Regions from separate parts of the Homo sapiens genome. Here regions 2, 3, 4, 5, 6 and 7 are each linked to region 1. Evidence: promoter capture Hi-C in 16 types of primary human blood cells and fetal thymus (Javierre and others, 2016). All regions are on one chromosome and are shown on one strand. Each heading gives the region's core, a stretch centred on a gene start or on the middle of the fragment in contact. The rest is flanking DNA. Distances are from core to core; before and after follow the strand shown. Region 1 holds the start of EFNB2 (ephrin B2). Region 2 holds the start of LOC105370337 (a long non-coding RNA gene). Region 3 has its middle 5.6 kb from the start of TEX30. Region 4 overlaps BIVM (basic, immunoglobulin-like variable motif containing). Region 5 overlaps BIVM-ERCC5 (BIVM-ERCC5 readthrough). Region 6 overlaps BIVM-ERCC5 (BIVM-ERCC5 readthrough). Region 7 has its middle 46 kb from the start of ERCC5.

The links. The method cuts DNA at HindIII sites, captures the fragments that hold promoters and counts their contacts. A CHiCAGO score of 5 or more calls a contact.
Region 2: a fragment that was not itself captured here is called in contact with the fragment with the promoter of EFNB2 in region 1 in 1 of 17 cell types (monocytes); the score reaches 5.2 in monocytes.
Region 3: a fragment that was not itself captured here is called in contact with the fragment with the promoter of EFNB2 in region 1 in 1 of 17 cell types (activated CD4 T cells); the score reaches 5.1 in activated CD4 T cells.
Region 4: a fragment that was not itself captured here is called in contact with the fragment with the promoter of EFNB2 in region 1 in 6 of 17 cell types (monocytes, non-activated CD4 T cells, naive B cells and 3 more); the score reaches 9.7 in monocytes.
Region 5: a fragment that was not itself captured here is called in contact with the fragment with the promoter of EFNB2 in region 1 in 10 of 17 cell types (total B cells, total CD4 T cells, naive CD4 T cells and 7 more); the score reaches 11.4 in total B cells.
Region 6: a contact is called between a fragment that was not itself captured here and the fragment with the promoter of EFNB2 in region 1, in 14 of 17 cell types (total CD4 T cells, total B cells, total CD8 T cells and 11 more). The highest score is 29.6, in total CD4 T cells.
Region 7: a contact is called between a fragment that was not itself captured here and the fragment with the promoter of EFNB2 in region 1, in 4 of 17 cell types (naive CD8 T cells, M1 macrophages, total CD4 T cells and 1 more). The highest score is 8.5, in naive CD8 T cells.

Annotation. Positions count from the first base shown.
Region 1 is chr13:106,534,074-106,537,289 of GRCh38, forward strand. EFNB2 (ephrin B2) reads right to left here and starts at 1,589. Exons shown (of 5, transcript NM_004093.4): 1 at 770-1,589. The coding sequence starts at 891. RefSeq lists a silencer at 1,377-2,036 and an enhancer at 2,617-2,686. The HindIII fragment of the contact is 2,990 bases long and covers 17-3,006 here.
Region 2 is chr13:102,758,877-102,762,092 of GRCh38, forward strand. It overlaps LOC105370337 (a long non-coding RNA gene), which reads left to right and starts at 778. Exons shown (of 3, transcript XR_931685.4): 1 at 778-1,679; 2 at 2,325-2,431. It overlaps LRTM3 (leucine rich repeat transmembrane protein 3), which reads right to left and starts at 196. Exons shown (of 4, transcript NM_001146197.3): 1 at 1-196. The coding sequence starts at 56. The HindIII fragment of the contact is 1,397 bases long and covers 944-2,340 here.
Region 3 is chr13:102,777,769-102,780,984 of GRCh38, forward strand. No RefSeq gene overlaps it. Among named protein-coding and RNA genes, the nearest start is that of TEX30, 5.6 kb to the left of the region's middle. The HindIII fragment of the contact is 4,617 bases long and covers 1-3,216 here.
Region 4 is chr13:102,836,655-102,839,870 of GRCh38, forward strand. BIVM (basic, immunoglobulin-like variable motif containing) reads left to right here. Exons shown (of 11, transcript NM_017693.4): 10 at 1,989-2,085; 11 at 2,918-3,216. The coding sequence ends at 3,211. BIVM-ERCC5 (BIVM-ERCC5 readthrough) reads left to right here. Exons shown (of 23, transcript NM_001204425.2): 8 at 1,989-2,085; 9 at 2,918-3,149. Among named protein-coding and RNA genes, the nearest start is that of ERCC5, 7.8 kb to the right of the region's middle. The HindIII fragment of the contact is 3,733 bases long and covers 1-3,216 here.
Region 5 is chr13:102,852,694-102,855,909 of GRCh38, forward strand. BIVM-ERCC5 (BIVM-ERCC5 readthrough) reads left to right here. Exons shown (of 23, transcript NM_001204425.2): 11 at 1,064-1,179; 12 at 1,595-1,681. It overlaps ERCC5 (ERCC excision repair 5, endonuclease), which reads left to right. Exons shown (of 15, transcript NM_000123.4): 3 at 1,064-1,179; 4 at 1,595-1,681. Among named protein-coding and RNA genes, the nearest start is that of ERCC5, 8.3 kb to the left of the region's middle. The HindIII fragment of the contact is 1,129 bases long and covers 1,122-2,250 here.
Region 6 is chr13:102,870,722-102,873,937 of GRCh38, forward strand. BIVM-ERCC5 (BIVM-ERCC5 readthrough) reads left to right here. Exons shown (of 23, transcript NM_001204425.2): 21 at 1,477-1,677; 22 at 2,538-2,622. It overlaps ERCC5 (ERCC excision repair 5, endonuclease), which reads left to right. Exons shown (of 15, transcript NM_000123.4): 13 at 1,477-1,677; 14 at 2,538-2,622. Among named protein-coding and RNA genes, the nearest start is that of ERCC5, 26 kb to the left of the region's middle. The HindIII fragment of the contact is 3,052 bases long and covers 108-3,159 here.
Region 7 is chr13:102,890,068-102,893,283 of GRCh38, forward strand. It overlaps the pseudogene METTL21EP. Among named protein-coding and RNA genes, the nearest start is that of ERCC5, 46 kb to the left of the region's middle. The HindIII fragment of the contact is 9,059 bases long and covers 1-3,216 here.

The DNA.
Region 1 (3,216 bases), core at 339-2,838:
ACTGGGCAGGGCCCTAAGCTTTTATAGGAAGTGCATTACAATCAGGTCGGCCATCGAGACCGCATACTCCGGGGCTACCGGCTTATGAACGAAGCGGGAGGCCGAGGTGCGGCGGGCCCTCAGGGAGAAGCCTAAGGCCCGTCTCCCCGGCGCGGAGGAAAGGGCTCGACGCCCGAGTTCTCCTGCGAAGCAGGCGAGCTCCCCGCGCACCCTCGGGCTGGCGGCGCGGTGCCAAGGCGCCCCGGCTCCAGGGCTCTGCGGGCAGCGTAGCGACTCCAGGCTCCCCTCTCCAGAACGCGCTTCGCTGCCAGCGTCCTGCCACCCCGGTCGCCCGCCCGCGGGCCCCGGACCACGCCGCCCGCGCTCCCCGCGAATGCAGCATCTCCGCCTCTCTCCAGAGCCCACCAGTCCCCGCGTGCCGGCCAGCCTAGATTGTGGCCATGTCCTTCGTCCTCGAAAACAGGAGAGGGTCAGGTATCGCCATCGGACACCTTCCCGGACTTGACACCCGAGCCGATAGTAGCTTTTAGCGCCTGGGAGCGTTCGGGGGAGGAAAGGCGGAGAGACCGTCCGTTCCAGCGGGGCTCGGGTTGGAAAGCCGAGCGAGGAGTCTCCACCTAGTGAAATGGGGCGGGGGTTGGGGGTGGGGGACGGGGAACCGAGGTTCCAGAAACAGGCTCCGAGGCCCCGCGGACTGACCCCTCCTCCCGCCCGGACGGCGCGGCGGACCCCGGGGCGGGGACATAGGGGGATCGCGGACGCCACTTACTTGGAGTTCGAGGAATTCCAATAGATAGGCTCTAAAACTATCGATTTGGAAATCGCAGTTCTGCATAAAACCATCAAAACACCCCAGCAGTACTTCCACACGGAGTCCCTTCTCACAGCCATGGCGAAGCCACTCCCAGCTCCGCGCACTCCGGGCCAAGAAGGGACTGACGGGACGCAGGCTGGGACCCCCAATCCTCCGGGGCAGACTGGCGGGGAAGACGGCGTGCGCCCGCAGGCAGCTCCGAGGCGCGCTGCGCAGCTCCAGCGGTCGCCGGGCCAGGTGCGCTCGCTCTCCGGGGCCCTCAGGGCGCGGGGCGGGAGCGCACGCGCGGGGCGCGGCGGCGCGGCGGACTCGGGGTTCCGGGGCGCCGCGCCGGACGCAGCTCGGACGGCCGACTCCCGTGCGGCTCCAGGGTGCCGGGCCGGCCGCGGCTGGCGGGTGGGCGCGGGGCGGGTGCGGGCTGGGACACAAAGACCCGGAGCGGAGACGACCGGCGCGGGCGGCGGGCGCTGCGCCCCGAGCGGGGCCGCCTGTGACTATAGATCCAGTGCAGCGGGCAGCGGCCCGAGCGCGCGGGCGCCGCGTCGGCGCGGTTCCATGTCCCGGAGCACGGAGCGGAGTAGGGCGCCTCCGGGCGCGCAGGAGCCTTCTCAGTCCGCGCGGCTCCCGGCCCCCAGGGCAGGAAAGAGGGAGCTCGGTCCCCGCCGCGGGCTCCGGACGCGCGCGGGCCTTTGTGTGCGGGGAGGGCGCCGGGACCCGCTGCGTGCGCAGCTCCTCGCTCCGGCCGGCGCCGCGGTCCCCGCCGAGGAGAGTCAGCGCGGCCGCCGCGCTGTCAGAGCGCTATAAACGCGGGGCCCCGCCCCGCCGCGCGAAGCCCATTGGCCCGCGGCTCCGCGGCCGCGCGCTGGTTGGACGGCCGGTCCGTCCGTCCGCCATCCCCTCCCGACATTGGGTGCCGCGAGGCGGGGCTCGGGCTGACAGGTGAGCCCCGCCCCTGGCTCCCGCGGGCGGCGGGAGCGGAGCAGAAGCCGGGCAGGAGAAGCGCTCAGCGCGTGCACAGGGCGCCCCCGGGGCGGCGAGAGGCCTTCTGGGCGCGGTGCAGACGTGGAAACAGCGACGGCCGAGTAGCGGGCCACCTGTCTCCGCGCCCGGGGGCGCCTTCCCCCTCGGCGGAATCAGAGGGCGCGGCTTTCCCTCGAGCAGTGCGGAAGGCAGCAGGCTCCGCTCGGCGTCCCTTCTCCGCAGATGCGGCGCTGCCCCGCGTGCAAGACTTGCACTCCGCGCGCACCCTTAGAGCTCCCGGCTTCTGCGCGCTTCTCCCGACGCCTCTCGGCGAGGGCTTCTCACTTGATTTTGGTACCAATCGCCTACGGCTCAGTTTCAGTCAGTGGGGCCGGGAATTGCAAGACGATTCCTGCGACGCGGCGCCGGAATTTGCAGCTCTAATCAGGGCCTGAGCATCGTCGCCTCCCGCCTTCTCTGCGGGCGTCTCCCTTCCCTCCTGGCCCCCCGGGAAGGTGGCGCCCCTGGAGCTTTCCCCGCGTGTCGCCGGCACAGGCACGACGCGGGGACCGTCTCACTAGCCTCTAGGAGACACGCGCGCTTCCCAAAGTGACCAGAGATTTAGAGGGTGTGAGATGGAAAAGTCAAGGCATGTGCTTCTCACTCGGCGTCTGCAAGACCCCAGAGCAGAGCTGGCAGGAACTCCTCGCTACTTTCCCGGTCGAGCGCCGGTGCTGACGCTCGTCCGTGACTTCCACGGAGCCACAGCGCCCACTAGCGGCCAGCTTTGCTTCTCCGCATCTCGAGCGCTCTGCGGTCCACCGACCCGGATCCAGCATACTGCAGCATCTAATCAAGTCACAGTTCCAAGGAAAATCTTTTTATATGTCCAACAGTAGGAAGAACACGGTAGAAATAAGGCACAGTGCAAATGTACGATTCAGTATGAAAAATTAAAATATACTGTATGCCCACGTTTTTTTTCAATTTAATGCCGTCCACCCCAGGATTTATGTTTCAAACACAAACTGGGCAGTAATTCTACAAATTATGTATTTTTAAAACAAAGTATCCACTACGCTAAATTTAAAAATGCATATGGTAAAACACCTTGTTTTCTTTCACTCTTCTTTGTAACAATTTCTGAAGATTTTTATGGTACGTTGCTTTTAAGTATCCGTTTTTGAAACATTAGTCTAACTTAACGTATACATCTCAGTTGGAGTGGTAAAAGCTTGTGAAGACTAGTTTAAGATAGAAAACACATTAAGGCATACAAAGTACTGAATACACTTACTCTTCCAAACAGATCTTTGAGAGCAGAAAAGTTTCATAATTTATTTTCATTTTAAATAAGCCTTCAAACTAAATATATATATACACACATATACGTATACACACATATACACATATTTATACATATATACACATATGTACGTATA
Region 2 (3,216 bases), core at 392-2,891, 3.8 Mb before region 1:
TTATCTTCCAGTCCACTCCCTACCCCTTTTTTAAAGGAATAATATTGCTTTGACATTTTAATGTCATATGTGAAAGAGACTGGTGTCTCATTCAGAAGTCCTTGATTTCAGAGGCCCTGAAATATAAAACCTCGGTATGCCCAACTCATAACCATGTGCAACATTTGGCCAGTGCTGCTGGTATCTTATCAAGTGCAGCAGTGATTGCTCTGGGCCTAAGTTAAGTGAGGTACGTGTCATAGTGGGTATTTAACTGAGCTCATATTAGCTTTAGCAATAATGGAAGTTCATAGGTAAGATATGTACACTGTATAAGTAGTTTTTTACTAAAATTCAAAAAATTACCTTCTCTTAACTTCATAGATAGCAACATAATTCTATCATGGATTGTTGCTGCCCTATTATAAATATAGAATAAATTTGGATTGGTAGAAAGCATTTGACATAACCATTTCTATTAACACCAGGAACAATGTATTTTATGCTTCTTTGTGGTAAGGAAAATATAGTCCTTTCTTAGAATGAATATAGATAGAGTTGACAGGTTTAGCAAATAAAAACATTAGATGCCCAATTTAATTTGAATTTCAGAGAAATGTCGAATAATTTTTTTGGTCTAAGTATGTCCCATTACAACTATGTAGAATGTATGATGACTTGTCTTTTATGAGTCTGATTTTTTTCTTAAAATAGAACACATTTTATATTTCTTTTTGCTAGCAGGGTCTGTTGGCACCATTTCCCTTCAACAATCTATTGACATGCTGAAAACTAAAGTGTCTTTGGAATAACCTCCTGGTGAATTTCCTTTTCACCCTGTCTACAGTGATTTCAGGGAGCTACTTGTGATGTCCTTTCCGATGTCAGAATTAAGGGTAGGGCAGAGGCAGATGTAAGTACAGTACTGCCCACTCCCCTTCAAAGTCTAGTGGGTAGGCCTGGAAGCTTATTGAGCAAATATGATTTTAGTCACAAGTAGACAGGATAGTCTGGACTAATAATGAAAAATGTTAACACTACCTTGGATTTAGAGTACTCTTCCTTTGAAGGTGTAATTAATTAATACTTCCTTTGCAGATGTAATTCATTAATGCTTCACTTTGGTTTTGTTTTAGTACTTCACTTATCCAAGGTAGGTTAAGCAAAGAAGTATTATTCATTACACTGAAGTATTATTCATTACACTGAAGTGAACAGTTCAGGCCTCTTCTGTCACATCAGTTTAAATAAGTACAACAAAGATTTATGACTTCAGCTGGGCGAAGTGGCTCATGCCCGTAATCCCAGCACTTTGGAAAGCTGAGGTGGGTGGATGGCTTGAGCCCAGGAGTTTGAGACCAGTACTAGGCAACATAGGTGGACCTCCGTCTTTACCAAAAATTTAAAAATTAACTAGGCATAGTGGTGTGCACCTGTAGTTAGTCTCAGCTACTTGGGAGTCTGAGGTGGGAGGATTGCCTGAGCCTGGGAGTTGAAGGCTGCAGTGAGCCATGATCCTGCCACTGCACTCCCATCCTGGACAACAAAGCAAGACACTGTTGCAAAAAAAAAAAAAAGAAAAGAAAAAGAAAAAAGAATTATCAACTCTTACTGTCCCTGAACATTGAAGATCAAGAGATCAATGACATTCTAAATGTTGGAATTTACAGTCTTCCAGTCTCCTGGACCACAATGTACAGGTATTTCTAATCTTTATTTAAGTATAATTCTTATCTTGAATTTTGTCTTCGCAAAGAATCGCCCTTTAGAATGCTTGGTAGGTCTTCATTGGCTCTGAAAGAAACTTCAGCAATTCCTCTTGATTTTTCTAGAACTATGGTAAAGTACACCTTCCCCGTACTCCCCTGCCCACAAAGACAATTGAGGTGATTTTAGTCTCCTGGGTTTCCCCATAAAATTCAAGCAGCTGGGCCAGGCGCAGTGGCTCATGCCTATAATCCCAGCACTTTGGGAGCCCGAGGCAGGTGGATCACCTGAGGTGAGGAATTCAAGACCAGCCTGGCCAACATGGTGAAACCCCGTCTCTACCTAAAAATACAAAAATTAGCTGGGCATGGTGGCAGGTGCCTGTAATCCCAGCTACTCAGGAGGCTGAGGCTGGAGAATTGCTTGAACCCGGGGAGGCGGAGGTTGCAGTGAACCGAGATCACGCCATTGCCCTCCAGCCTGGGCAACAACAGCAAAATTCCATCTCAGGGGGGAAAAGAAAAATTAAGCAGCTGGAAAAATACTGTTACTCTCACCTACTTGCAGAAACTCTCTAAATCATTTAATGGTAACTATCTTAAAAGGGATTCATTGTTTCAACATTTTCTTCTCTCTAGTTAATAGATCTTTCCAAGCTTTATGGTACTGAATCCCTAATTAGCATTCCACTGAAGAGCTCTTAAGGAACTGAAAAGGAACTGCTGCGTACCACTCCTGCTGATGGGTAGGTTTACATAGGGGTAAGTATTATCCCTCTCCAGGGCTTTGTCATGTTTGTTACTTATGTACTTGCTACTAACAAAAGTATAATTATCTATTTTTCAGCATAAATGCTTCTGTCTCTTGGACTAGAAACCTCTCAGACCAATGTCAAGTGAACAGCATCAAAAGTAAATGCTAAGCAAGATTTACTTGCTTACAGAGTAAAAAGAAAAAGAGTATCAGAGAAAGCCTATTACAGTAGTAAAACATAGACACTACGAGAAAACACAATGAAAATTCTATTAAAGTTTTTTTTAAAACTTCCTATTATATTTACCAATGTTACCATCTTTGAACTATCTTGACATTATGAACTTGGTTTTTGTTCTTTACTTAACAGGAAAAAGTCCCAATATTAGATATATAAAACAGCAACATAAAGCCAGATATTGTTCAAAATTGTTAGAAATTCTTTCTGTAAATATCTTAGTTTAATACATGTGTTGAATAATAAATGTGTAAAGCACTGAACAAGGAACAAAAACGTGCTTTAACACATTTTGTTAACGTTTTGTTAACATCTTTGTTAACATTTAACAATGATGAGGAAAAAAAATCCCAAACTTGAAGGAATTTGTAATGTAAGTGAGATGGAGATATTAATAACTTAATGAGAAGGTAGAGTTCGGTTAACACAGAAAGGACGAAGATATTACAGGGGTTTGAGGTGAGATGCTTGGTTTGGGGTAATTTCAAGGAAATCTGCAAAGAGGGGAAAAAAATCCCCCCTACTCATTTGGATTTGGT
Region 3 (3,216 bases), core at 321-2,820, 3.8 Mb before region 1:
TGCTAACTTTATGTGTCAAGTTGGCTGATCCAGGGTGCCTAGATAAGTGGTCACACATTATTCTGCATGTTTTGATGAGGGTGTTTTGGGATAAGATTACCATTTAAATCAGTGAACTGTGAGTAAAGCAGATTGCCCTCTGTAACGTGGCAGGGGGGGGGCCTCATCCAGTTAACTGAAGGAGTAAGTAGAACAAAAGACTAGCCTCCCTTGAGCAAGAGGGAATTCTGTCAGCAGACCGCCTTCAGGCTTGAACTGCAATACTAATCTCTCCTGGGTCTCCAGCCTAATGGTCTTTGGACTTTAACTGCAGATTTTGGACTTGCTAGCCTCTATAATTGTGTGAACCAATTTCTTAAAATAAATCCTTATGAACACACACACACACACACACACACACTCACACCCTTCTATTGGTCATATTTATCTGGAGAATCCTGACTAATGATATACCACTGAAGTCTGAAAGACAATAAGAATGCTTGTTGTCACCACAATCATTCAACATTATGCTAGAAGTTCCAGCCAATGCAATAAGGACAGAAAATAAATAAGATTATAAATATGGTAAAGAAGATACACTGTCAGTTTCAAATATGACTGTGTTTGAGAAAAAACAAGTGAAATGTATTAGAGCTAATAAAATCGTTCGTTAAGGGGTTGGGTACAGAACATATATAAAAATCTATAGTTTTCTTAGCTACATTAAATAACCAGCTAGTGAGACCCTGTCTCTACAAAAAAAAACACCCAAAAAACAAAAAACATAATCTTTTGAGCATTAAAAGACAATGAAATGAGAGTCTAAGATATACCATAAAGTAGGATGTATGCAGCATATACCACAAAGTACTAACTCCAAAATATATGTCTATGAATCCAGCAGGAAGTTGAACAACTTAGTAGGAAAATAAGTAAAAATTTAAAAAGATTAAAAATTTTACAGGAAAGGCAACACAAATGGCTCATAACCACAAAATGGTCAACCTCATTAATAATCAGAGAAATGAAAATTAAAACATAATGTGTTACCATTGTGTACTAATCAGATTGGCAAAAAATTTGTAAGTCTGATAATATCAACTGTTAGCAAGAAAGTAAAACAACTGCAAATTCTGTACAGCCCTGGAAAGAGCATAAACTGGGACAACCAATTTGGAATCATTTAACATTATCGAGTGAAATAACAGGTGTACATTCCTTATAACCCAGTAATTCCACTTCTAATCAAATGTGGCCAAGAAACATGAATAAGAATGTTTGCTGTAGCACTGATTGACATTCCCCCCAAATGAGAGGAATCCAAATGTCCATCTGCAATGGACGGTAAAATAAAGTGATCATATTTATATGGTGAAGTACTGTCCACATATAAAAAATGAATAAGGCTGGGTGTGGTGGCTCATGCCTGTAATCCTAGCACTTTGGGAGGCCGAGGCTGGCATAGCACTTGAGTTCAGGAGTTTGAGACAACCTTGGGCAACATGCTGAAACCCTGTCTCTACTAAAAATACAAAACATTAGCCGGGCAAGGCAGGCACCTATAATCCCAGCTACTCAGGAAACTGAGGCAGGAGAATCGCTTGAACCTGGGAGGTGGAGGTTGAAGTGAGCCAAGATTGTGCCATTGCACTCCAGCCTGAGTGACAGAGTGTGACTCTGTCTAAAAAAAAAATAGGCAAGTAACAACAACAAAAATTTGATATGATTCCATTTATATCAATTTCAAAATAGGCAAGAGTAAACTCTACTGCTTAGGGAAGTGTATGTAGGTGGTAAAACTAAAAAGCAAGAAAAAGATTATCACAGCCATCATGTTTGTGGTTACCTGGGAGCAGAGAGGAAATGTGATAAGAGGAGGCACTGTGGTCACCTCTAAGCAATGTTCTATTTCTGAACCCGAGTGGAAATGTCGAAGAAAAACCAGAGCTGGACGATAGTTAAAGTGGTAAAAAAACAGATGTTATTCAGGACTATTGCAACAGGGGAAAAGACACTTCAGTATAGGATTGGACTCAATTCTGAATACAGCATGGTTAAATGGGCATTTATAGCCAAGGAGCAGGGTAGGGAGTCAGTGGATGGAAAATTACTAAGAGGAAATGCATCAGGGTGACAGAGATTCTGGTTAAATAGACCAAATGGGATTCTAGCTGAAAACAGGCCAGCACGATCAGACATGACCTGGGGGATGGTAGAGGATGAGGAAGCAGATTAGATATAAAGTGTGGTCACATATGGAGGGTGGGGGATTTTTGTGAAACTGACTTAGCAGGGTTCTTGCTAAAATTGAATTTTATAAGGCAGTGCACAGATAGGCCTACGACAAGGTTCAGGAGGCTGATGAAAGGATGGTGATATGGTCTGGCTGTGTCCCTACCCAAATCTCATCTTGTGGCAGGCCAGGTCTCACTAACGCAGGCCTCCATACAACAGTTTCAGTACTGACTGAGTGGTTAAATTAAATGTTAAAAGCCAGCGTCCTTATACAAAGGCTGGAATGTAACAACAGCCCAACAAGAGTTTTGCCTAGGCCTTTCCTGAACCTTAAAGCATGATAAAACAAGTTTTACTGGGGGCCTGAAGAAACTCCCAAGGCCTCCATAAACTAATTTATTGGGAGTCTGAAGGAAATCCCTAAACCTTCGTGATTTAGTAGGAGACAAGATAAGGGTAATCACCCCAGCACCTGGACTCATTTAGATTAAGTACATTTACTGAGGCTCCAGAGAAAGGTCTTCAAGACTCAGACCTTAGTTACAGATTAAAAGAAGTTAATCACTTATGTGTTTAGATGAATGCATACTTAAATATAGACATATAGCTTGGAAGGTATATAGGCTCTGGAAAACTTTGTAATTTTCAGTTGGTCTGGTGATAATTTCCAGGCCTTCTCCCTGTAGCTGGTTACAGAAATAAAAACTCTCTTCCTCCCCAGTTCATCTGCATCTTCTTATTGGGCCACGAGAAATAGTAGCCTGACTCTCAGTTTGGTCTGGGAACAATCTTGAATTGTAGTTCCCGTAATCCCCATGTGTCATGGGATGGATCCAGTGGGAGGTAATTGAATCACGGGGGCAGTTACCCCCATGCTGCTGTTCTCAAGATAGCGAGTGAGTTCTCACAAGATCTGATGGTTTTATAAGGGGCTTTTCTCCCTTTGTTCAGCACTTCTTCCAGCTGGCATGTGAAGAAGGATGTATTCACTTCCCCTTC
Region 4 (3,216 bases), core at 242-2,741, 3.7 Mb before region 1:
TGATTTTTTCCCCCAGTGTTTATCTAGTTATTCTAGCACTATTTGTTTACAAAGATTTTCCTTTCCGTATTTAACTTCTTTGGTGCCTCTGCTGAAAACTGTATGTGTGGGCTGTTTCTGGACCCTGTCCTACTAATCTGTCTGTCCTTTTACCGATGCCACACTCTCAATTGTTGTTTATACTAAATCCTGAAATTAGATAGCACGAATTCTCTGAATTTTTCTTTTTCTTAAAGATTGTTTTGGCTCTTCTAGGACCTTGGCTTTTCCATAAAAATTTTAGAATTTGTCCTTTTAATTAGAGTTTGTAAAGATTTTGATGAGGATAGAATCTATAGAATTCATAATTTTGGCTGGGCGCGGTGGCTCATGCTTGTAATCCCAGCGCTTAGGTGGGAGGATCACTTCAGCTCAGGAGTTCGAGACCAGCCTTGGCACTATGGCGAAACCCCATCTCTACTAAAACGACAAAAATTAGCCAGGCATGGTGGCATGTGCGTGTAGTTTCAGCTACTCGGGAGGCTGAGGGGGGAGGATCAACTGAGCCTGGGAGGTCGAGGCTGCAGTGAGCTGAGATTGCACCACTGCACTCCTCCCTAAGTGATAAGGTGAGACCCTGTCTCATAAAGAAAGAAAGAATTCATAGTTTAGTTTTGGAAGAATTGACATCATAACAACATGGACTATATCTTTACTTAATTAGAGCTTTAATTTCAACTTTTTAAAAAAATTTTTTCAGTATGGAGTTTTATGTCTTTTATTAAACATTTTTTCTCTATGTGTTCTATTACACTGCTGGTGGGAATGTAAATTAGTACAATCACTATGACAAACAGTATGGAGATTCCTTAAAGAACTAAAAGTAGATCTACCATTTGATCCAGCAATCCCACTACTGAGTATCTGCCCAAAGGAAAATAAGTCATATGAAAAACACACAGGCACACACGTTTATAGTGGTACAATTCGCAGTTGCAAAGATGGAGAATCAACCTAAGTGCCCATCAACCAATGAGTGGATAAAGAAAATGTGGTATGTATATTACCACGGAATACTACTCAGCCATAAAAAGGAATGAAATGATGTCTTTTGCAACAACTTGGGTGGAGCCGGAGGCCGTTATTCTAAGTGAAGTAACTCAGGAATGGAAAGCCAAATATCATATGTTTTCACTTTAAGTGGGAGCTAAGCTATGCGGATGCAAAGGCATAAGAATGATATAATGGACTTTGGGGACTCCTGAGGGCAGTCTGGGAGGCGGGTGAGAGATAAAAGACTACATATTGGATTCAGTGTACACTGCTTGGATGATGGGTGCACTAAAATCTCAGAAATCACCACCGAAGAACTTATTGGTATAACCAAAACCCAGCTGTACCCCAAAAACAATTGAAGTAAAACTTAAAAAAGATATTGCAATAAAAAGGTTTTCCTCAGTGTGTTATACTTTTTGATGCTATTGTAAATTGATTTTTTTAAAATTTCATTTCTTCATTATTTGCTGGTTGAATACAAAAATACAATTGATTTTCCTATGTAGACCTTGAATCTTCCATCTTTACCAAATCCTTTTAGTTCTAGTAGTTGTTTTGTAATTCCCTTGGATTTTCTGCACAATTGTGTTGTCTCCTAATAGAGACATATTAACTTTACATTCTTTTAAAAGTGGACTTGACTGTAATTGAAAAGGAAATATAGCATATTGCTGCTTTAGCATGCAGGATGTCATCTAACATGTTGGTATTTATTTATTCTGTAGGAAGAGTAACCAATTGTACACTGAAAACCTTGGCAACGGTTGGATAAACAGAATTGTCATAAAACTAGAAGTTATTACAGTTTAGTAGATGAAACAATGTTGAGATAAGAGAATTACTGCCAATTATTGCTGTGATAATATTGCAGCAACTTGCTCATGAAAAATTCCATTGCAATGATACTTTAGACCTAAAGAAAATTGTGCTTTATCCTTTCTTCTTAACTATAGATGGGCAGATATTGTTACTGATCTAAACACTCAAAATCCAGAATACCTGGATATCCGGCACTTAGAGAGGGGACTGCAGTATAGAAAAACAAAGAAGGTAAGAAGAACACCATTGTGTTTGAAGGCATTTCCCAGCTGACCAAAATGTGGTGTTTTACTTAGCACTCTTTAGGTTGCAAGTAACAGAAACCTATATTTGATAGAGGAGTGAAAATTATTTTAAGGACACACGGCTGTCTTTAAAACCCAAGGGCAAGGGGTATAACCTGGAGTCATAAAGGAATGGTAGATGGTAGCAGGTATTGGAATGACAGCAAGGGCCAAGTAGCTGGTAGTCTGCTTCACTCTTTTGGGGGCTATATATTGTTCTTAGCTTTCCTTTTGTCTGATTACTTTCTTCGTAAGATCATCATCTTTCCATTTATGTGTCGTTTTTAGATGAACAGTCTAGACTGAGACTGACCTGTCTTGGGTTCAGTTCCGTAGTCTTAGCCCAGCTTGGGCCAGATTAACTGTGGCCTTGTGGCAGAGTCATGTGTACAAACAAGGCTTTGGGAGAGGCTCTCAGGAAATGATATCTTATTGATGCAATCTTACTCATATAACTATATGAAGAATAGGAGAGAGAGGAAAAGGAATGATCTTGGTGTTTGAATTAGGCAGATGGGGAAGTTCTCTAGTATGTGTTGGGAGTGAGTAGTAGAGAGGCATGGGGAGGAAGGTGTTTTGGCTCCGGTGGGCATTGTTATATTTTGTAAAGGCAGCTGTTAGAAAAGGTGCAGGATGAGGTGCTCTGATGATGCCTGGAAGGAAAGTACCATTCTGAGGCCGGTGAAGTAAAAAAAGAAAGAAGGGAGTTCATAGGGACCTACAAATTAGTACAATTAATTTCCCTTTATTTTCTTCAGCCAACATTTTTTTCTTCTCAGGTTGGGGGAAATTTGCATTGCATCATAGCATTCCAGAGACTTAACTGGCAAAGATTTGGCCTTTGGAACTTTCCATTTGGAACCATTAGACAAGAATCACAACCTCCAACACATGCCCAGGGAATTGCCAAATCTGAGAGTGAAGACAATATTTCCAAGAAGCAGCATGGGCGTCTGGGCCGGTCTTTCAGTGCTAGTTTCCATCAGGACTCGGCATGGAAAAAGATGTCTAGTATCCATGAGAGAAGGAACAGTGGTTACCAGGGTTACAGTGATTACGATGGGAATGATTGACTATG
Region 5 (3,216 bases), core at 436-2,935, 3.7 Mb before region 1:
TTAAGGGGAATTGGATTTTAGGAGTAAGCAATGTTATGTGGTGCCAAGTGGTGACTAAAGTGGATTATCTAGGAAGGAAATTGACCATGATATAGAAGAGTCAGAATGAGTTGCTGCTTTATTGTTCTGGAAGTAGTTTTAAAAAATGTTTTTGGAAGGCCGGGGGCAGGAGGATTGCTTGAGCCCAAGTCCAGCCTGGGCAACACAGGGAGACCCCATCTCTAAAAAAATGACATAAAATAATGTTTAAACAGTCCAAATGACAGCACCCATTTGGATATATGACTTTTATTTGTTGAAAATACCAAAGTAATGAAATGATGACTTTGTAATCATACCAGATACTCTCTAAATGAGGATATAGGATAAAAGTAAGGATATAGGATAAAAATAAAAAGCATTTATAAATGCTGGGGGACCTTTGTTGCCTCAGTAAGAGTGTCTAGTCTTGAATGTTGCAGTTTTCAGTTACCCAAGGCATACTGTAAATCAGGTACTTTGTGGAAGGATTAGAAAGGAAAAGAGAATATCTTGGTTATTTTTATCCGATATTCAGCCATAAGCACAGGGACTATCCATTTGTCACTACTTGAACATTTCTTACAAGATATTTCTATACATTTTAGAATTTCTCATGATATATAATCTTGAATATTGAAGGGCAGAATTACATGTAAGTAATGCATGTTTATAAAAAGCAATATTAGAAATTGTTTTTGGTGTCACTGTGACATTTTATAGAATAAATAAATAATTTCTTTTGGGAAGCATTTAAGCTTTCCACTTCTTGGGCATATTAAAAGACATTTAAAAGAAACTGAAAGTAAATTAAGTTTCCCAAATATATTGTGTAGTAGCCCATTAAGTAATAGATGGAAACTCTGGGTGTCCTTTACGTAGCAGCAACCTGAAGATATACACTGATATGGCAATTAGGAGGAAATGCTAAAGCAGCCATAGTCTGAAAACTCAGACAAACCAAATTCTCTGGAAAATAAATCACAGCAATGTTTCTAGTGGTCTAATATCCTGAAGTGAGATCTTACATCCTTTCTTCTCATAGGTGAAGAGAAGGCAGAGAAAGGACTTAGCGTCCAGTGACTCCAGGAAAACGACAGAGAAGCTTCTGAAAACATTTTTGAAAAGACAAGCCATCAAAACTGCCTTCAGAAGCAAAAGGCAAGAGGAAAATTATAGTCGTGTTAGAGATGAAGTTTTAAAAAAGTGATTTTTGTCTTGATTTCCTGCGATTCTCTTTCCCTATCTAATTTTGACTCTCAACAGAAAATAGAGAGTGAAATGAGACAAGTAGGCTGCCATTTTGACCTGGTAATTTGGAGTTGTGGCAATTCTCCGTTCTGTGAGAATCAACTTTGCTAATGAGAAAAAAAAGCTGTCGTGTTGCGTCATGTACACTTTTTACTTTGATTATGGTCTTCTTGACTCTAGGTGAGCAGCCCCGCCAAGGTTCCTTCCTTTCTCTCGGCTGCATTTATTTTCCACAGCAGTGGCCTGAGAGCAGCCAGGTCAGGTCCCTGTTCACCATCCTGAGCAGGGTCTGCATAATCTGTTTAAAGATTTGTGTACTTTCCAGAGATGAAGCACTACCCAGTCTTACCCAAGTTCGAAGAGAAAACGACCTCTATGTTTTGCCTCCTTTACAAGAGGAAGAAAAACACAGGTAAATGTTTAACTATTTAAGAATATTATTTTAGTCATTGCTACATTCAGACACATTTAAACCTTGATGTGTTATCTACATGATAAGGCATGTGAACATTTCTTAATGCATCTGAAATAGGCATGCTCTATACCTTTCAGAATATTTTTCAAAGACTAAATTTTTTATTTACTATTCTTTGTGTTTTGGTGATTCATGATTCTTATTCCTCTTCATTCTAAAGAACTTCTGCCAGGGCTGTGGATTCTAAATTCTCCAAGGCATGAATTTTAGTTTTGCTTACACTTTGCTTACACATGCTGTCTCTAGCTGCTTTTCAATCCAGTATGGTCTCTCTCACCATGATGCTAAAATACCACAACCCATGACATTCTTGTTGCTAAATCTAGCAGACGCTTTGCACGTCTTAGTGTGCTCGACTTCTCTGCACTAAACACCATGCCACACTGCCCCGCTCCCCCGGCATCTCTCTGGCGCTTTCTGCTCAGCCTCTCTGTGGACTCCTCTTCCTCTGTCTCTCTCTTAATGGTTGGTGGTTTCTGTGTTTGAAGTGAAGGTGGAGAACCGGAAGCTTGGCAGTTTGCCTTTGTCCCCTGTCCTTCCCTCCACCTCTTCCTTTCCCAGGAGTTCCCAAGAGACAACTTAGCTTTTGTATCAGCTCAGTTCTATTTGTCTCCATTGCTACCACTGTCATTTTTTCTCCAGGTTACATTATTAGCTTTTAAACTTCTTTCTGTCTTTGTCTTTGATCATACCCTTTTTGTAATAGTTCCTCCCACCAAGCCCAATCTCTGTTTTGTGTTATAGTCTGTTTAAAATCCAAATCTGATATTGTCATTTCCTTACTTAAAACACTTTCTAGCTTCTCCTTCTCATTTTTTTCTTTCTTTTTTTTTTGAGATGGAGTCTCTGTTGCCCAGACTGGAGTGCAGTGGCACAATCTCAGCTCACTGCAACCCCTGCCTCCTGGGTTTAAGCGATTCTCCTGCCTCAGCCTCCGGAGTAGCTGGGATTACAGGCACGTGCCACCACACCTGGCTAATTTTTTGTATTTTTAGTAGAGACGAGGTTTCACCATGTTGTCCAGGCTGGTCTCGAACTCCTGACCTCAAGTGATCCACCTGCCTCGGCCTCCCAAAGTGCTGGGATTGCAGGCGTGAGCCACCACACGCAGCTTAGCTTCTCATTTCTTTAGGATAAAACTTTAACTCCTTAATTACACTTTCCAGTCTTATCCCTGCCTTTCTTCACATCATCCACAGGCAGGCTTTCTTTTCCTTGTTTCTATATGGTCATACAACTTAGTTCTTTTGCCTGGAACACTCTTCTCCATGAACCTTCCCGCTCCCTACAACTACACTCATTAATTCGTGGCTAACTCCAACCAGTGTAATTGCAGGAGATCCTGGAAAGCTTTTGTGACTCCTAAATTGGGTGAGGTGACTCCCTATTGCATCTCTAGTGACCTGCCCTTCCCTTGTGGTGGAAGTTATTAGATCCCACTCTAATTGCTTACTTACACGTGTCCCCCACCA
Region 6 (3,216 bases), core at 384-2,883, 3.7 Mb before region 1:
GAAGACCGCAATTAGTAATTTCCAACGCTAGATGGCACTCCTGCATCGGTGAGGCGGACCCTGGCCCTGACAGCCGGTCTGAGTGGGTTCCTAATGCTGCACTAGCAAGCTTGTGAAGCGGGGGAGCCTGAGCTGCGGGCGTTTTTTCAGGTTCCATTGAGTACATAGATTGGTGAGGATTATGTTAGTAACTTTGATGGCATTTATTTTTTCCTAATTGTGTAAATGTTTCTGGTCAGTCGTCACTGCATTACAAACTACCTTCAGCCTTAGTGGCTTCACACAGCAGTAGTCACTGATTTTGCTCATGCCTCTGAAGCTCGCTCAGGCCTGGTGGGGGTGTCTTGTCTCTGTTCCATGTCGGCTAGGACAGCTCAGCTGGGCTAGGACCCCTTAAGATGGCTCGCGGGGCTGATGAGGTGGCTTCGGCCTCGGGGCCTGGGTGGACACTTGGTGAGCTTGGCTTCCTCATAGCATGTTGGAGCCAAGAGCAGGAGGTCCAGGGGACAGGAAGTGGCGAGGGCCTCCCCTAGGCCTGGCACGGCTTGAGTCACACTGGTCAGCCATGGCCGCCCTGCTCAAGAGGAGGCCACAGGGACCCCCTTCGTGATGGGAGGAGGGTCCAAGAGTGTGTCGCTGTCTTTATCCGGCCGATTTAGGCTTAGAATGGAAAACATTGAAAAATGAATAAAATATAAAGAAGAAAATGAATGGCTGTGTGCTCACGTAGAATATTGCCTAGCACACAGCGAAATAATAGTTGTTAGTGTTATTTATTTTAAGTATCTGTTTACTTTTCTCATATATGTGTTTTTTCCAAAACTGGAATCATACTTTAAGTAGAGTTCTATTATCTCTGTTTTTGTATATATTTATTTGTTTTACATACATATGTATTTATATATATATAAAATGTTAAATTTTAAAAACAGATACATGTATCTGTTTTTACAGATTTTTTAAACAAATTTAACATTTTCTTGGCATATTTACATTTTATTAAATATTCTTCGATCCATTATTGTATTTGATTTGAGGTAAATAATACAGATACATTACTTCCATTTTACTGCTGAGAAAGAGACCCAGAGAAGTTGTAACTTCTGTGGTATAATTATGAGTGTGGGCTCTAGAGGAAGACTGTACCAATTCCAGCTGTGAAATCTTGAGCCAGTTACTTATTTTTGAGTTCAGTTCCCTCCTCTGTGAGGTGAGGGTAACGATAGGGCATGGCTTGTGTGATGATTGGGCATGTGAAATATTTAACACAGTGCCAAGCACAGAGGAAGACTTCCATAAATGTTTGCCATCATTATACATTGTGGCTAATAGTACTAAAATTAATAAAATATTCTATATAGCATACAATTTGAGTTAGAACTTGAGTTTACATGTTCTAAGTTTAGTTCTTCATCCATAGTGTATGAACTATAATGTCTCATTGCTGTGTAAGTAATTGTTTCCTTTATTTTACAGAGAATGGTGGCATGAAGCTCAAAAAAATCCAAAGATAAGACCTAATCCTCATGACACCAAAGTGAAAAAAAAATTACGGACATTGCAACTCACCCCTGGCTTTCCTAACCCAGCTGTTGCCGAGGCCTACCTCAAACCCGTGGTGGATGACTCGAAGGGATCCTTTCTGTGGGGGAAACCTGATCTCGACAAAATTAGAGAATATCCTTTGCTTCTTAAAAGAGAAGGAAACACCTTGTCAAATATGTGTTTGGTTTAAAACTTATGGAAGAGAAACTTGGATCATTTTTTTCTTATATCCCGTTAATCCCATTTTCTTAATATCCCGCTCTCCTTTTCACTCTTTCTTCCCTCTCCTCAGTTGTTGTTTTTTGTTTGTTTGTTTGTTTTAAAGGAACAGTGTATCACTCTGTCACCCAGCCTGGAGTGCAGTGGTGCAATCATAGCTCACTGCAGCCACCACTTCCTGGGCTCAAGGAATCCTCCTGCCTCAGCCTCCTAAGTAGCACAAGCCACTGCATCTGGCCCCTCTCCTTAGTTTTAAAGAGGGTCTTTGTTTGAATAAGCAGTGATAAGCATTCATAGATATAACCACATACTTAAATATTATTGATTCTGAAAGAAGGAAAGATGACTAATCTTGTCCTTTTTATTACTGGTTGTCCTTTCCGTGTATATTTAAGTAATCATTTGGATAGATGTTTCAAAACTTGCACTAGAATTAATCCAACTACGTTTGATTTTTTCTCTTAATGAAATAGGCAAGATATCTGAAACTTGTTTTTATTCCAGTTAACCTTTTTTCATAGTCACAAGTCTTTGATGTCCTAAAGTGAGAGCTAAATATGTTTTATTTTATAGAATTGAAAAGAACATAGTGCCAGATGATTATGCTGGAGTCATTTATTTTGTTAGTACTTTCTTTTAGCACTCTAATCTTTATAAATAGGAAAATCTTAGGAGATACAGGGAATGGAATCAAGAATGGGTTCTTTGGACCTTTTTATTTGTCACTTGTTTAAATATCTTTCAAAATATTTATAAGTCTTAACTGCATGCATATTTTGTCAGCGGTATTTCGGCTGGAACAGAACGAAGACAGATGAATCTCTGTTTCCTGTATTAAAGCAACTCGATGCCCAGCAGGTAATCATGGTGGACCCTTCTCCTAAGTTCAGGATGAAGGGTAGGCTGTGGTTGACAGCTGTTAAAGACCAGTTAACTCTTATTTTGGGGCATAGAGCAGACATTTTGAAATTAGGATAATTTAGATGAGAGAATAGAAGAAAATAGAAAAAGAAAAGTTAGACTTTGGCTTCATTTTCTATGATCACTCTTAGGGCTGAACTTTGGAGTCCTTTCATATTCATTTTTTTCTTTGAAAAAACCAGTCTAATAACTGATTTCACACTAAGGTGTTTCTGATTAAATACATTACCCCTTGGGATTTACTTTCATTTTTTAACGAAAGGAAGTCTTCAAAGCAATTCTGATCATTTAAGTTTTTATAAGTACTAATATTTTTAAATTCTATAAACGAATCTTGAAAGGTAGAAGTTCAGTCATTATTGTGTATCAGTAGGAGAGGTTTTTGTGGGAAGGAGCCCTTTTGTATGACCTTTAGTTCCTCTAGGTACCTACTTCTTGCTTTATCTGTGAGTATGTTCTGACTCACACAAAACAAGCTTTCGCCCACACTAGAAACAACCCACAAAACATACATACAAATAAACCACTTAG
Region 7 (3,216 bases), core at 535-3,034, 3.6 Mb before region 1:
CTGTTTGTATTCTAAGCAGGACACACACACACACACAGACACACACACACATGCATGCACCCCAACCTTCTATTTTCTAGTCCTTCAAATTTTGAAAACTCTTGTGTTCACTCAGGTCTTTTCTTCTTTTTGTTGAACATGTTGAACTCCCCAAAACTGTCCTTATAAGGCCGAGTTTCAAGATTTCTCACCTCCCAGTTGCTACAGTTTCTCAGTGTCCCTCTAAAGTGGGCCTTCCCTAACTGGATGTACAAGTATAATCTGACTGGTGTAAAAGAAAGCCTCTACCTCCATGATTTTGGAAATTATATTTTTAATGTGGGCTAGGTGCACCGATTTTTTGATGATCATATTAAACTTTTGACTCATATTGAGCTTGTGGCCAAGTAAATGTATCTGTCTGTCCCCATCCCCTACACAGTGCTGCTAAACTCAGGCTGAATACAGACTTTAGACTTATCTTTATTAAATTTCACATTGTTAAGACCAATCCATTTTTACAACTGAAGACATTTTCCTTCACATTTAGTTTTCTGTTATACTTGTTGTCCCCATCCCATTTATATATTCTGAAAATTTTATAATACTTGTAATGTCATCAGTTAGTCGAACCATTGACAAAACTGTTCATCAAGGCAAAGCTGAGAACACACCATTTATTAGAAATGTCTATCCAGGTGGGCACCAAAGCCAAGAGCCTTGGGAGTACTGTGGAAAAGCACTTTCTTCCAATCCAACAATTCTTTATAGGTATGCCCTGAGATACCACATGTTTGTGTCTATGGATTTCCAATTTTTCCAAGGGCAGGGACCATGTCTATTTGGCTAGCTACTATACTCCATCACCCAGCACTGTGCCTGGGACACAGAACAGCTAGAATTGCGCTAGGACACCAATATGAAGAGGTGGGTTCTTATATTCCATCACCAATCTCTCTCTTATTCTATATGAACTGATTGGTGGCTCTTAAAATATATTGCTTTAAAAAAGTACATCAATTATTATTTGTTGTGTGTAGCATTGCAGAAGGGGATAATGGTGATTTGAACTCCCATGAAAATAAGAAAGATGTTGCCACCCTGATGAATGGAAATATTAGCTTACATTGAGAGTCATTTTCAAATAGTTTACCTTATTATTTCTCACCTAAAGTCACTGAATATTCAAAAGCTCCTTAGACTAAGCAGAAATGCTGTATTTCCATCAAGTTCTTTTCTCTTTTCATGGATTTACTTATACAACCATTACCTTTTTCTTTTCCTTTCAGACACCAGAGAAGCCTATGATGACAAGCAGGTGGTCACAGAGATCATGGCAAGATGTTTTATTCCAACTCTGATAACAACTACTTCCTGGGAAAGTTTTCATTTTATTGGTCATGAGATTCGAATTACTGAGGCCATGGATTGTTATGGTGCTGTTGTTTGGCCATCGGTATAATTTCATACAGAATTTGTTACATTCCAATTATTTTTCCAGCCGGTTTTATTCATTATTATGTTCTATTTGGAAGAAGAAAACAGGTTCCATATTCCTTCTTTGTGACCTCAAATAGTACTATGTTTTAGAAATCATGTGACTAGGAAATTATTTCTCCCAATTAATTCTGTAATTCTATTTCTTTTCTTTTCTTTTTTTTTGAGACAGAGTCTTGCTCTGTCACCCGGGCTGGAGTGCTGTGGCTTGATCTCAGCTCACTGCAACCTCTGCCTCCTGGGTTTAAATGATTCCCCTGCTGCAGCCTCCTGAGTAGCTGGGACTACAGGCATGCAACACCACACCAAGCTAATTTTTGTAATTTTGGTGGGAATGGGGTTTCAACCACGTTGGCCAGGCTGGTTTTGAACTCCTTGCCTCAAGTAATCCATCCACCTCCACCTCCCAAGGTGCTGGGATTACAGGCATAAGCTACCACGCTGGGCCTCAATTAATTCTATTTCTGACTTTATTGAAATTTGTAGGATTAATACAGGGTGTTGTTTACTTCTTCAGTTTTTAAAATAAGAGTTTAGAGCAGTAAACATTTTTATTTCCCCTTTTATCAGCTCCATTTGAGTTAAACAATTACATTGAAATCTATATGAGTCTCACATGTAGAATGTCCTCAAAGACCCTCAATCCTTTACCAACTGTCCCATGAAGAGTAATGGACCCACCACCCCACCTGCCCCAATCCCACACACCACTTGGAAATGACTAGTATTATCAGAAGTTGCTTCCTTTAAAAATGATCAAACCTAAGCAATTGAACTCCACATTTTTAGTTATTTCTCTTTTCCTCTCAATAATCCCCAAGGAATTTTTCTAGCAGAAATGTTGAACCTCTCAGAGGATGCACTTTTGTTCATATTTTTTGGAGTGATGTACAAGTACACACATGAGTACTCTCATGTACTCATATGAGCACGCATACATAGCATAACATTAGCAGCATATTTGTCCAATAAAGTTTAATTTTACTTTCTGTTATTACTTGCCAAGCGTCCCTTTTTTTTTTTTTTCTAACTTTCATAGGCCCTTGTTCTATGCTATTTCCTGGAAACAAATGCAAAGCAGTATAATATGGTTGACAAAAACGTGATTGAAATTGGAGCTGGAACAGGGCTAGTCTCCATTGTGGCAAGTTTACTTGGTAAGCAGATATTTTTGATTGAATAGAGGGAGTGTCAGAGAATTTAATGATCAAATATCATTAGTTGTTTTACTATCCAGTGTACTATGACCTGTGCCTATCTGTGACTCCTTAACTGTTTGAATGGGCTTCATCTAGAAACTACAGATTTTAAAGTCTCCTTACCAGTCTCTTTTATAGTTTTCTGCATTAAGTTGTGTTAATTCCGGTCTCTTTCATAGTTTTCTGCATTAAGTTGTGTTAATTCTTCTTGTGGAATACTGTCACAAGCCTCAGATGAAATGTTCTAAATAAGAGTTGCATGGAAGCATTCTGGTTGCAAGAGAAGAAATGTGAAATACCAGGCAGAGGCAGATTCTATTGCTGCTGATTCAGATGCACTTTAGATTTTAGCGCCATTTCAGTGTTCCCATGTAGCTGTAGATTCCTTTTGAGTTTTGAAGTGCTATGCTTTTATGAAAAAGCACGTATCAGAATAGGGAGATAATATTAGAAATCACACAAAAATCACACGTCTGCTTCTATTTTTAGGTGTTTGTCCTTGAATTTGTTTTCTCAGTTCATTCAATTCTTTTTTTTTTTT